Regions from separate parts of the Homo sapiens genome. Here all the other regions are linked to region 1. Evidence: promoter capture Hi-C in 16 types of primary human blood cells and fetal thymus (Javierre and others, 2016). All regions are on one chromosome and are shown on one strand. The core of a region is centred on a gene start or on the middle of the fragment in contact, and the rest is flanking DNA. Distances in the headings are between cores, read along the strand shown. Region 1 holds the start of AZIN2 (antizyme inhibitor 2). Region 2 has its middle 20 kb from the start of ZBTB8A. Region 3 holds the start of TXLNA (taxilin alpha).

Region 1 (3,796 bases), core at 754-3,253:
AGAAATCAGTCTGAAACCTCTCAGTTCACAGGGGGAAATCAAGCCAGGCAGAAGTGACCCAGATCCAGTTAGGGTGACTCAGCCAAGGACACCCAGCAATTATATGTCCCAGCTGGGTAGGGAGCAGAAAATGGCTCTCCTGCTTCTGGTCCCTGCCCCACACCATTTGTGTACTGAGCATGTTCTAACTAGGTTGTGCAGTGTCCTAGGGAGATACTAAGGCGGGACAAGAAGTGCCTCTGATTTAAAAAAAAGTCTACAGCCCACTGGGCATGGTGGCTCACGCCTGTAATCCCAGCACTTTGGGAGGCTGAGGCAGGCAGATTGCTAGAGCTCAGGAGTTTGAGACTAGCCTGGGCAACAGGGCGAAACCCTGTCTCTACAAAAAATACAAAAATCAGCAAGGTATGGTAGCATGCACTTGTAGTCCCAGCTACTTGGGAGGCCGAGGTTGGAGGATCACTTGAGCCTGGGAGGTGGAGGTTGCAGTGAGCTGAGGTCATGTCACTGCACTCCAGCCTGGGTGACAGAGCCAGATCTTGTCTCAAAAGAGAAAAAAAAAAAAAAAAGCCCACAGCCTAGCAGGGGACATGAAGACATATGGTAGACCAAAAGCCCTTTGGCTTCATTGATTTGAAATGCTGCCTCCATTGTGTACCAATCTCCAATGTATATGGGACTGTTGTAGACCCTGTTCTGTTTTACCACTGTCTCTTCCTGCTCCAGCACCATACTGTTTTAAAGACTGTAGTTTTGGCCGGGCGCGGTGGCTCACGCCTATAATCCCAGCACTTTGGGAGGCCGGGGCGGGTAGATTACTGGAGGTCAGGAGTTCAAGACCACCCTGGCCAATATGGTGAAACCCCATCTCTACTGAAAATACAAAATTAGCTGTGCGTGGTGGCATGCGCCTATAATCCCAGTTACTTGGGAGGCTGAGGCAGGAGAATCGCTTGAACCCAGGAGGCAGAGGTTGCAGTGAGCTGAGATCGTGCCATTGCACTCCAGCCTGGGCAAAAAGAGTGTCTTGACTGTTCTTGTACACTTACTTTTCCAGATGAACTTTTATATCAGCTTTTGAGTAACACAGCTATTGAATCTTCCTCAGCATTCTTGTCTATGCCAGGCACCAGGCTCTTGAGCAGGGTATTCAGTCCTTGCCCTTGGGAAATCACAAACTAGATGCAAAGTGTAACCAAACAAGAAGTGTAAAATAACAACAGGAATCTCACGCTATGGGTAACAAGAACCAAATGAGTGAGGGGTCCAGACAGACTAAATGCTGTGTTCCTTGGGGCCAGGCAAGTCATGGAAGGTTCAACAGAGGTGACATTATACAGGACTTTGATGGGTGAGCAGCAGCTTTCGGTATAGAAGAAATGCTTTGAGTTGAGGAAGTCCGGGAAAGCTTCTTGGAGAAGGAGACACATTTCTATTGAGAGATGAGTAAGAGTTTGCCGGGTTCACAGGATGGGATAAAGGGAGGGATTGCCCTGAACTGGGAAAGTCACAAAAAGGTTCTCTGAAGACATTTTAGATGCGTTTTGAGTTGGAGTCGGGGAAGATGCCTGGAAGAGGCAATTAAATAAAAAGAATTTTATTACAAAAGTAATACAAGGACATGTCATTGGAACCGGGTTTCGAGAGATGAGTGAGCAGTTCCTGACGCAGACAAGAGCTGGACCACGAAGTAAGTTGAGGCAGAGGCAGAAAAGGCTTCCTGGTCCTGCCCACTCTCTAAGACCTAAGATGCAGGGTCTAAGTGTCTCACCTGCGTGGCGGCGGCCCTGTAGTTCTGACTTCCAGCGTGAGGTAGCCACCGCCAGGCCTCCGGGGGAGAAGACTACAGTAAGGGCGAGCAGAGCTGAATGCTTTATGTCGGAATCGACCAATGGGATGGCGGCACCCGGTTGCCAGGGCTACGGCCAAGCGGAGGTAGGGCCTCGGCACTATGGGCGGGGCCTGGGCGGGGTTATATAAGCCAGCGGCGGGCGGAAGGCGGGGCGTGGGGGTCTGTGGCTGCTGGGCTGGCGGGGCGCAGGCCGCGGGACCCGAGCCCGGGGAAGCGAGAGAGCGGAGGCGCCGAGGATCCGATTCACTCCCTGGGGAGACCTATGGGCCGAAGCCGTGTAAATGCGTTTTAAGGCGAGTGCGGAAAGTGGCCTGGGGAGCCTCGGGGAGCGGACGCCCTCCGCCCTGGTGCTGACCTGCCTCCCTGCCCCTTCTGCCTCCTGTCAGCAGAGGCCTCGGCTCCGCAACTGCCACTCCTCCTCGGGGTGTTGCACAAGTTTCGAGGTCACCGGCGACCCCCCCTAGCAGCGCGCCTGGCTCTGGCCCCCGCGAAGGAGGACGGAGTTTGGTAAGGGGCCCTGGGGGTTGGGGGGACCTCAGCCCTGCACTCTGTAGGAGTCACTCGGACAGAAAAAACCTCGGCCTTCCGTTCTCTCCCAGGAGCTTGCGGCCCCCACCCACCGCGTGGCGTCCCCAGGCACGCCTAGAATTCTAGCACCTCAGGATCAGTCCAGCCCCCATTTACAATTGGGGAAACTGCGGCTCCGAAAGGGTCAGAGGGTACCCGAGGTCAAGCAGTAGAGAGCGGACTCGAACTTAAGCTCTTGCTCTTAGGCTGAGACGCCTTGATGTGGCCACCGGCTACCCTCTAGGTGGGCGTGGTCAAGACTGGGGGCGCCCTGGAAACTTCCCCACCCAAGTTTCTCAGATTTTCTGTTCCATCTCTCTCTCACTCTTTCCTGAAATCCAGAATTTCAGAACTGGGAAGGCTCTCCAAAACAATTCATCCATTTTACAGAGGGAGCAACTGACTCGGAGAGGCAGTGACATTTGGGCATACGGTGCCTTGTCTCCGTCTGAAATCCGGGATTCTTGACTTTCTCCACCCTTGCCCAGTGAACCCCGGGCTTGTGCTGGGGGCGGGTTGTGACGGGATTGGGATCCCTGGCCTCGGGAGGCGAGTGGGGCAGCAGAGCCGGCCCCCCAGCGGTTCCCTTCATCTCCCCTCGCCCCGCAGTGTGTTGCATACTTTCTAAGGCGGCGGCTGCAGCAGCGGCTCCATCCAGCCCGTCAGCTCCTCCTGCAAGGCATGGCTGGCTACCTGAGTGAATCGGACTTTGTGATGGTGGAGGAGGGCTTCAGTACCCGAGACCTGCTGAAGGAACTCACTCTGGGGGCCTCACAGGCCACCACGGTGAGGGGCTGGGAATGGGGGTGGGTCCCCGGTCCCCTGTACAGATCAGCTGCCTCCTCAGGAAGGGTCCCTAGGGCCCTCATCTTATCCTTTCGCTTATTTGGTACGCAATCCTTGCTATTTGCAAGAGAGGGGCTCAATTTATCCCCAATTCTTTGTCCTTGCCCCCAAACCTGCCCCTCCTATGTTGCCTTTTTACCCAGCCCTCCAAGGTCAGAAACGGGGGATTCCTTTCCTGCTGCCCCCTCTCCCTCACCGCCCACATCTAGGCATTACCAAGCTCTGTGAATTCTGCCTCCTTAAATAAGCCTCCAGTGTGCTTATGTGGAACCTCGCTTTCTAGTTCAGTCTTCCTCTCTCCAAAGGCCCCCTGATCTCCCGGTCTCATGCCACCCCCTCCAAAGGTATCATAGTCCTGTTCAAAATCTGAATTTGGCAATTCTCCACTGCCTACAGGATCAAGTCAGAGCTTCCCTGCCTCCATAGCCCCATTCCCAGCTTTCCCCACAGTATATATTATGCTCCTTCGGAGCTGAATGACTCAATTTGCATTTCCCAATGATGCTGTGTGCCCAATGATGCTATTACCAT
Region 2 (4,038 bases), core at 1,268-3,767, 560 kb before region 1:
GAGTGAGTGGTAACTGAATATGAAGGCCTAGGACATTACTGTAGACTTTATAAACACGGTACACTTAGGCTAAATGTATTTATTTATTTTGAGACAGAGTCTCATTCTGTCACCCAGGACGGAGTACAGTGGCACGATCTCAGCTCACTGCAACCTCCGCCTCTGGCTTCCAACAATTCTGCCTCAGCCTCCTGGGTGGCTGGGATTACAGGCACGCGCTACCATGCCCAGCTAATTTTTGTATTTTTAGTAGAGACAGGGTTTCACCATGTTGGCCAGGCTGGTCTCAAACTCCTGACCTCAGGTGATCTGCCCACCTCGGCCTCCCAAAGTGCTAAGATTACAGGCCTGAGCCACCGCGCCCAGCTGGCTAAATTTATTTTTAAAAATTTCTTTCTTCAATAGTGAATTAACTTTAGCTTGCTCTAACATTTTTACTTTATACACTTTTTAATTTTTAAAAAACTTTTACGGCCGGGCGCGGTGGCTCACGCCTGTAAACCCAGCCCTTTGGGAGGCCGAGGCGGGTGGATCACGAGGTCAGGAGATCGAGACTATCCTAACACAGTGAACCCCCGTCTCTACCAAAAATACAAAAAATTAGCCGGACGTAGTGGCGGGTGCCTGTAGTTCCAGCTACTCGGGAGGCGAGGCAGGAGATGGCGGGAACCCGGGCGGCGGAGCTTGCAGTGAGCCGAGATCGCGCCACTGCACTCCAGCCTGGGCGACAGAGTGAGACTCCGTCTCAAAAAAAAAACAAAAAACAAAAAACTTCTTAGGCCAGGTGTGGTGACTCAAGCCCGTAATTCCAACACTTTGGGAGGCTGAGGCCGGAGAATTGCATGAGCCTGGAAGTTAAGACCAGCCTAAACAACTTAGTGAGATCCCATCTCTACAAAAAATAAAAAATAAGCTGGGCATGGTAGCGCCCATAGTCCCAGCTACTCTGGAGGCTGAGTGGGGAGGATCACTTAGGCCTGGGAGTTTGAGGCTGCAGTGAGCCATGATCAAGCTACTGCATTCCAGCCTGAGTGACAGAGGGAGACCTTGTCTCAAAATAAAAAACAAAAACCAAAAAAACCCACTTGACTCTTTTGTAATAACACTTAGCTTAAAACACACATTCTACAGCGGTACAAAAATATTTTCTTTCTTTATATCCTTATTCTATAAGCATTTTCCTATTTAAAAAATTTTTTTGAAACACCATGACTGGCTAATTTTTGGGCTTTTTGTAGAGACAGGGTTTTGCCATGTTGCCCAGGCTGGTCTTGAACTCCTGAGCTGAAGCAGTTTGCCCACCTCATCCTCTCAAAGTCGCTGGGATTACAGGCGTGAGCCACCTCACCCGGCTAATTTTACTTTTTAAACTTTTTTTGTGAAAAATTAAGACACACACACACCAACACACACACACACTAGACTAGACTAGGCCTACACAAGGTCAGGATTACCAATATCACTGTTTTCTATCTATATATCTTGTCCCACTGGAAGGTCTTCAGGGGCAATAACACGCGTGGAGCTGTCATCTCCTATGATCATGGTATCTTCTTCTGGAATACCGCCTGAAGGACCTGCCTGAGGCTGTTTTACAGAAAACTTTTAAAAATATAACTAGAAGGAGTACATTCCAAAATAATGATGAAAAGTATAGTATTTAAACACACAAACCAGTAACTTTTTTTTTTTTTGAGATGGAGTCTCGCTCTGTTGCCCAGGCTAGAGTGCAGTGGCATGATCTCAGCTCACTGCAGCTTCTGTCTCCCAGGTTAAAGTGATTCTCCTGCCTCAGCCTCCCGAGTAGCTGGGATTATAGGCGCGCGCCACCATGCCCAGCTAATTTTGTATTTTTTGTAGAGATGGGGTTTCACCATGTTGGCCAGGATGGTCTTGAACTCCTGACCTCGTGATCCTTCCACCTCAGCCTCCCAAAGTGTTGGGATTACAGGGGTGAGCCACTGTGCCCAGCCCATAGTCATTTATTATCAAGTATTCTGCACTGTACATAATTATGTGTTCTAGAATTTTGTATGACTGTTAGCACAGATTTGTTTACACCAGTGTCACCGCAGTGCTAGGATGCTACCGCAGCTACAACATCACTAAGCAATAGGAAGCTTTCGGCTCCATTATATTCTTAAGAGACCACTGTTGTATATGCAGTCTATTGTTGACCAAAATGTGGTGCATGACTGCAGTTATTGTTAGATGATGTGTTTTGAAGTGTGGTATGGGAACTATAGTCACTGGAATAATAAACATATAAAGTATAAGTTTCTAATTCTGAGATGAGTAAGATGAGGGTAAGATCATTACATTTGTTAAAGAGCTGGTACAAATTCACAGGTATCTGTTCCAGCTTCTTGTTTCCTCTTTGCTTTTTTTTTTTTTTTTTTGAGAGGGTCTCACTCTGTCGCCCAGGCTGGAGTGCAATGCCATGATCTTGGCTCACTGCAACCTCTGTCTCCCAGGCTCAAGTAGTACTCCCGAGTAGCTGGGACCACAGGTGCGTACCACCACGCCTGGTTAATTTTTTGTATTTTTTGTAGAGATAGGGTTTTGCCATGTTGGTCAGGCTGGTTTCAAACTCCTGAGCTCAAGCGATCTCCTGCCTTGGCCTCCCAAAGGGCTGAGATTACAAGCGCAAGCCATCGCACCAGGCCCCTCCTCTTTGCTTTCTATTAGTCTTTTATCTCCCTGGTCACCAGCGGTTTGTCCAACCGCCTATTTTCCCCTTTTCTTCCAATGAAGAGTCCCACATCTTTCTTTATTAAATTTAAATATTTTTCTCACTTGAATATCTCAGATAACCGATGATCCTCCTAGTTAGTTACAGTTTTGGTGATGAAGACATTCATTTATTCCTCAAATGTATGCAAATTATCAATTTATCATCACTTAACTTCAAACTTAAGCTTTTTTTGCCCTGCTTTGTGCAACCAGCTGGACTCTATAAACATTTCTTCTTTCCCAGCTAGAGCAATGTTAGGCCCTGTCAATAGAGGGCGCCAGAGGGACACTGCAATAGCAGAGGCAGGGGCTTAGTGATTTCAGTGTAATTTTTTTTTTTTTTTTTTTTTAAAGACGGAGTCTCGCTCTGTCGCCCAGGCTCGAGCGCAGTGGCGCGATCTCGGCTCACTGCAAGCTCCGCCTCCCGGGTTCACGCCATTCTCCTGCCTCAACCTCCCAAGTAGCTGGGACTACAGCTCTCACGCCAACACGCCAGGCTAATTTTTTGTATTTTTTAGTAGAGACGGGGTTTCACCGTGTTAGCCAGGATGGTCTCGATTTCCTGACATGTGATCCGCCCACCTCGGCCTCCCACAGTGCTGGGATTACAGGCGTGAGCCACTGCGCCAGGCCAAGTTTTTTTTTGTTTTTTTGTTTTTGAGACAGAGTTTCACTCTCGTTGCCTAGGCTGGAGTGCAATAGCGTGGTCTCAGCTCACTGCAACCTCTGCCTCCGGGGTTCAAGCAATTCTTCTGTCTCAGCCCGCCACCATGCCTGGCTAATTTTTGTATTTTTAGTACAGGCGGGGTTTCACCACGTTGGCCAGGCTGGTCTCGAACTCCTGACCTCAGGCAATCCACCCGCCTCAGCCTCCCAAAGTGCGAGGATTACAGGCTTGAGCCACCGTGCCCGGCTTCAGTGCAACTTTCTTCTTCATCCTACAGTACAGCTCCATGGGGAATGGTGCCCACCCTGCAGTGAGTTTGCTGGCACCCTGGTGGGTGGCCACAGATCTTCCAGCCCACACCTGTGGCACCTCAATGAACTTCACCATCCAGCAGGCGGCAGACATATCCTCTCTGAAGAGGTCTAAATCCCAGTCTTTGGTGGGGCATGGGAAAGGAAGTCCTCTTGCAAGTTTCTTCTTTCCTTGAGTACTCTCCTTCAACCTTAAAGGTAATAGCTGGTCCTGTTGTCTTTGCCATTTGCTACATTTGCTATTCCTGTTTGTTTATTTATGTATTTAAGAGAGGGTCTCACTCTGTCCCCCAGGCTGGAGTGCAGTAGTGCAATCATGGCTCATGG
Region 3 (4,002 bases), core at 230-2,729, 900 kb before region 1:
CTTTCTGAGCCTCAGTTCCATCATTATACTAAAAATTGAATATCTCTTATCCAACATGCTTGGGACCAGAAGTGTTTCCAATTTGGGATTTTCTCAAATTTTACCGGTTGAGCTTCCCCAATCTGAAAATCTGAAATCCAACATGCACGGCTCTGAAGTCTTTCACTGAGCCTTTGGGGGAAATATTTAACATCCTAACAGCCCTAAACCAACGCTCAATTAGCACAACAGTTTACAATCTTCTCTACCCACAGCCTGATGCGAGGCTCTGGGACTAGACTATTTAGCCAACAGTTCTTGCAAAATTAACTGACTTATAAGTAAATAGTAATTTCAACACCTCACTGCTAATGCTGTAACAACTCTGCAGACCTAGGGAGCAAGTACGGTTTGCAGAGCACTGGGAAGGCTCTGAAGTGACCTTTGAACTGGGCCTCAAAAAATTTTGGGTTTGGCAAAAGTCAAATCTCTTAGGCTTCAAATTCCAGGCACAAGGATTGTTGGGTTTGATTTCATTATCCAGAAGCAATGGGGATACAGAATTGTGATCTCATGTGTAGGGAACTGTGGGGGTTTTTTCTACTTTAACCCCAGTGAGACTTTGTAGAGTGTGGGGTAGAGAAAAGGCTCATGAATATGCCTGAAGCCTAACTCAGCACCTTTCTGAGGAACTGACTGCCAAAATGGTAATGGAGAGGGGAAAATATGACCTACTTTCACAAGTTACCTTGACTGCCTCAGGGAAACCTGCTGTGGTAGTGTTTCTTCTGGGTGAAAGACCAGGTAATTACCTGGGTGCTGGTCTCAGACTTACCAGTTTTGAATCCCTGTTTTAACCACTCACTATCGATATGACCTTGGATAAGTTACCTAACCTTTCTCTTACTGTCCTTTTCCGTAAAATGGGGATAACAGATAGTAGTTATTTCTATGAGTGGTTATGAGAACCAAGCTATTAGATAGCGGGAAAGCACACAGTAAGCGTTCAAGGAACTGCTATTGTTATTAAAAGCCTCCTTTGGAAGAAGGACATTGAGGCCCAGAGAGAGAACAGAACGTCCAGCCACACAGCAAATCCGTGATGAAGTTGGGACTGGAGTATGGGTCTCCTGAGTCTCAGCCCAGGACTCTATCCCTCTTCCCGAGTCCTCGGAGTTCCCGGATGGAGTCACATTTGTTCACGGCCAGGGAGGAAGGTTTGATGGAGGCCTGCAGGAAACAACAGCCAGGCGCAAGGCTTTGGGAGTTGAAGCATAGCTTCTGCGAGATAGAAACAAGGTTGACATGGGCACTCGTGCAGAATGACGGGCTCCTTTTGGACTCCCAGGACTACAGTCCCTTATGCACCTTGGGATCTGCGGCTAGCCCCTGCGTAAAGAGGGACGCGTAGTCTTTTCCCTGCCCCGCCCTGCCGGGGCGCCCGCCTCCGAGGCCGCCCTCGCTTCGTCCTTCCCAGCAAGCTCCGCGCCGGCGCCGGCTATTGATTGGCTGAGGCGGGAGCAGGCGGCTGGCCGGCAGCAGTTACTCGGGGTTTCCGGTGCGAGGCCAGAGGTGGGGAAGCCATCGGACGTCGGCGGTGAGGTACGTGCAGCGGCGGCCGGTGGGCGAGACTATTTGAGAGTGTGCGGGCCGGGATGTTCTCGGCCTGTGGGGAAATCACGCCAACTCCCCGCGTGGGCCGGGGGCTGTCTGGGGATATGCGCATGCGCGGGCGTGCCTCGCGGCTTGAGGGCGCGCGGGGCGTGGGTGGCTGCGCGCGCGGGGGGCGCACGTGGGGCCTGAGGGGCGGGGGCGGTGCCGGGAGTCCCGCCACGTCAGTCTCCGGCCCTGAGCCAATCCCGCGCCCGGCCTGCCGCGAGGGGGCCGGTTGTGCCGGGAAGTGGCTCCAGGGAGAAGAGGCCTCTTCCCTCACCCGCTGTGGGAGCTGCGCCCCGAAAGCCTGCCCCGGCACGTCGGGCTCTCCTGACCCGCCAAGACCAGAGAGCCGTTGGCGCCCTCCGCCCGGGCCTGCCGGTCCGTTTATTTTAAGAAGCTTTGTGCGCCTGCTGTGGGGATTTCTGATCCAGGCTGCGAAGAATTTCGAAGTCTGGAAAATAGCAACTGTGTTTGTTTCTAAAGGATCTTCTCCTGACCCAGCATCGCTCATCACAATGAAGAACCAAGACAAAAAGAACGGGGCTGCCAAACAATCCAATCCAAAAAGCAGCCCAGGACAACCGGAAGCAGGACCCGAGGGAGCCCAGGAGCGGCCCAGCCAGGCGGCTCCTGCAGTAGAAGCAGAAGGTCCCGGCAGCAGCCAGGCTCCTCGGAAGCCGGAGGGTGTGTGCCAGCTCTGCGTTGCCAGCGGGCAGGGGGAGGAGCTGTGGGGTCGGCCTCGCTTCTGGACTTACAGGCCGAGGCCAGGTTGTCCGGGAGGAGGAGATGTAGAATGAGAGGACAGTGCTGGGGGCCGCGGTCCCCCCTGCGCTCTGGCGAGTTGGCGGAGCTGCCCCCTCTAAGCACAGGAACAGAGTTCTGGAGAGAAGCTCCGACGGGATTAAGTCAGGTGGCAGCCAAACGAGGCACCCAGTCAGGAAATCCAGGTCCCGTTAGAAACACCTCAGCCACCAGCAGCTAACTGCCCTTCCTGTTTGAGGCATTTCTAGAATGATCTGAATGGCAAGAAATGGTTTTGTGGGGGGGAAGGAGATGGACTAGAAGTTGCTCCGTGCCATCCCTGTGTGCTGATGCTTTACATACTTTTATGATCTAACAAATATGTTCGGGTGGTAGTGAGAAATAGTTGTGTCATTTTACAAGTAAACAGACTTAAAGAAGTTAGGCAACGATTACTATAATTTCTTGATTTAAAAGATGTTTCGAATCTAAATTCTGACAGGAACTAGATTTGCTGAATGATACTCCATTCTTGCTTCTCAGTTTCCATAAAAAAAAAAGTTAGGCAACATTTAACTCAAACTGATGAGTTTGGCTGGGCCTGAAAAATCCCAACCAGTGGTATAATCGTCTTCTTTCTCACTCTACCCCTCATCCTCTCCTGCTGTAGGGGCTCAAGCCAGAACGGCTCAGTCTGGGGCCCTTCGTGATGTCTCTGAGGAGCTGAGCCGCCAACTGGAAGACATACTGAGCACATACTGTGTGGACAATAACCAGGGGGGCCCCGGCGAGGATGGGGCACAGGGTGAGCCGGCTGAACCCGAAGATGCAGAGAAGTCCCGGACCTATGTGGCAAGGAATGGGGAGCCTGAACCAACTCCAGTAGTCAATGGAGAGAAGGAACCCTCCAAGGGGGATCCAAACACAGAAGAGATCCGGCAGAGTGACGAGGTCGGAGACCGAGACCATCGAAGGCCACAGGAGAAGAAAAAAGCCAAGGGTTTGGGTGAGCAGAGGGCGGCTCTTTGTGAAGCTGGTGAGGAGAGGGAGTTTGGACTTGACGTTCTCTGGGCCAGTCTGTTCTGCCAGGATTCAAAGGAAAACGGTACTTCTCAGAGCAGCAAGTCACTCTAGTCTAATCAAAGCCAGGGATGTGGGGGCCACGGCATAGAGAGATGCAGGAGTTACCAGCACAAAGCCTTCTGGGTTTTGGAGCAACTGGAGCTTGGCATGGGACCTGTTCTCTCTTTGAGAAAATGGAGACGGGAGGCTAGGGTAGGCTCCTGTGCCAGCCAGTACTACCTGCTGTGTGACCTTGGGTGTGTCCCTTCTCCTCTCTGGGTCTTAGTTTATATTTCTCTTTACAGTAAGAAAATTAGACTAGGCCAGAGTTGAAAACCCAAATATCTGCATAAGCTGGGCTGGCCATGGGGCCACCTGAAGATGGAGGCTTTACTGCTTCCTGATTAGTTGCTCTCAGCTAGCCAACTGAGAGCAGGCAAAACTACAGGCTGGGTGCAGTCAGGCTTTTTTTTTTTTTTTTTTTTTTTAAATAAAGAAAAGCCAGAAATCTAGAGTTATGTGAGAACTCTAGATTTTTTCATAGTTAGCAGCTAAAATGGTAAG

Evidence for each region. Contacts are between HindIII fragments. The CHiCAGO score rates a contact against its expected background, and 5 or more counts as called.
Region 2: a fragment that was not itself captured here is called in contact with the fragment with the promoter of AZIN2 in region 1 in 3 of 17 cell types (naive B cells, total B cells and M0 macrophages); the score reaches 6.3 in naive B cells.
Region 3: a contact is called between the fragment with the promoter of TXLNA here and the fragment with the promoter of AZIN2 in region 1, in 5 of 17 cell types (naive B cells, total B cells, non-activated CD4 T cells and 2 more). The highest score is 7.8, in naive B cells.

Annotation. Positions count from the first base shown.
Region 1 is chr1:33,079,150-33,082,945 of GRCh38, forward strand. It overlaps AZIN2 (antizyme inhibitor 2), which reads left to right and starts at 2,004. Exons shown (of 12, transcript NM_052998.4): 1 at 2,004-2,145; 2 at 2,239-2,359; 3 at 2,452-2,663; 4 at 3,029-3,205. The coding sequence starts at 3,101. It overlaps LOC105378635 (a long non-coding RNA gene), which reads right to left and starts at 1,847. Exons shown (of 3, transcript XR_947163.2): 1 at 1,772-1,847; 2 at 1,050-1,178. RefSeq lists a silencer at 1,966-2,225. The HindIII fragment of the contact is 16,354 bases long and covers 1,407-3,796 here.
Region 2 is chr1:32,517,599-32,521,636 of GRCh38, forward strand. No RefSeq gene overlaps it. Among named protein-coding and RNA genes, the nearest start is that of ZBTB8A, 20 kb to the right of the region's middle. RefSeq lists enhancers at 3,582-3,631, 3,682-3,801. The HindIII fragment of the contact is 798 bases long and covers 2,119-2,916 here.
Region 3 is chr1:32,178,196-32,182,197 of GRCh38, forward strand. It overlaps TXLNA (taxilin alpha), which reads left to right and starts at 1,480. Exons shown (of 11, transcript NM_175852.4): 1 at 1,480-1,581; 2 at 2,119-2,319; 3 at 3,047-3,382. The coding sequence starts at 2,151. RefSeq lists enhancers at 658-1,417, 1,418-2,176, 2,064-2,143, 2,264-2,423, 2,434-2,483 and silencers at 1,354-1,543, 1,684-1,863. The HindIII fragment of the contact is 3,390 bases long and covers 1-2,030 here.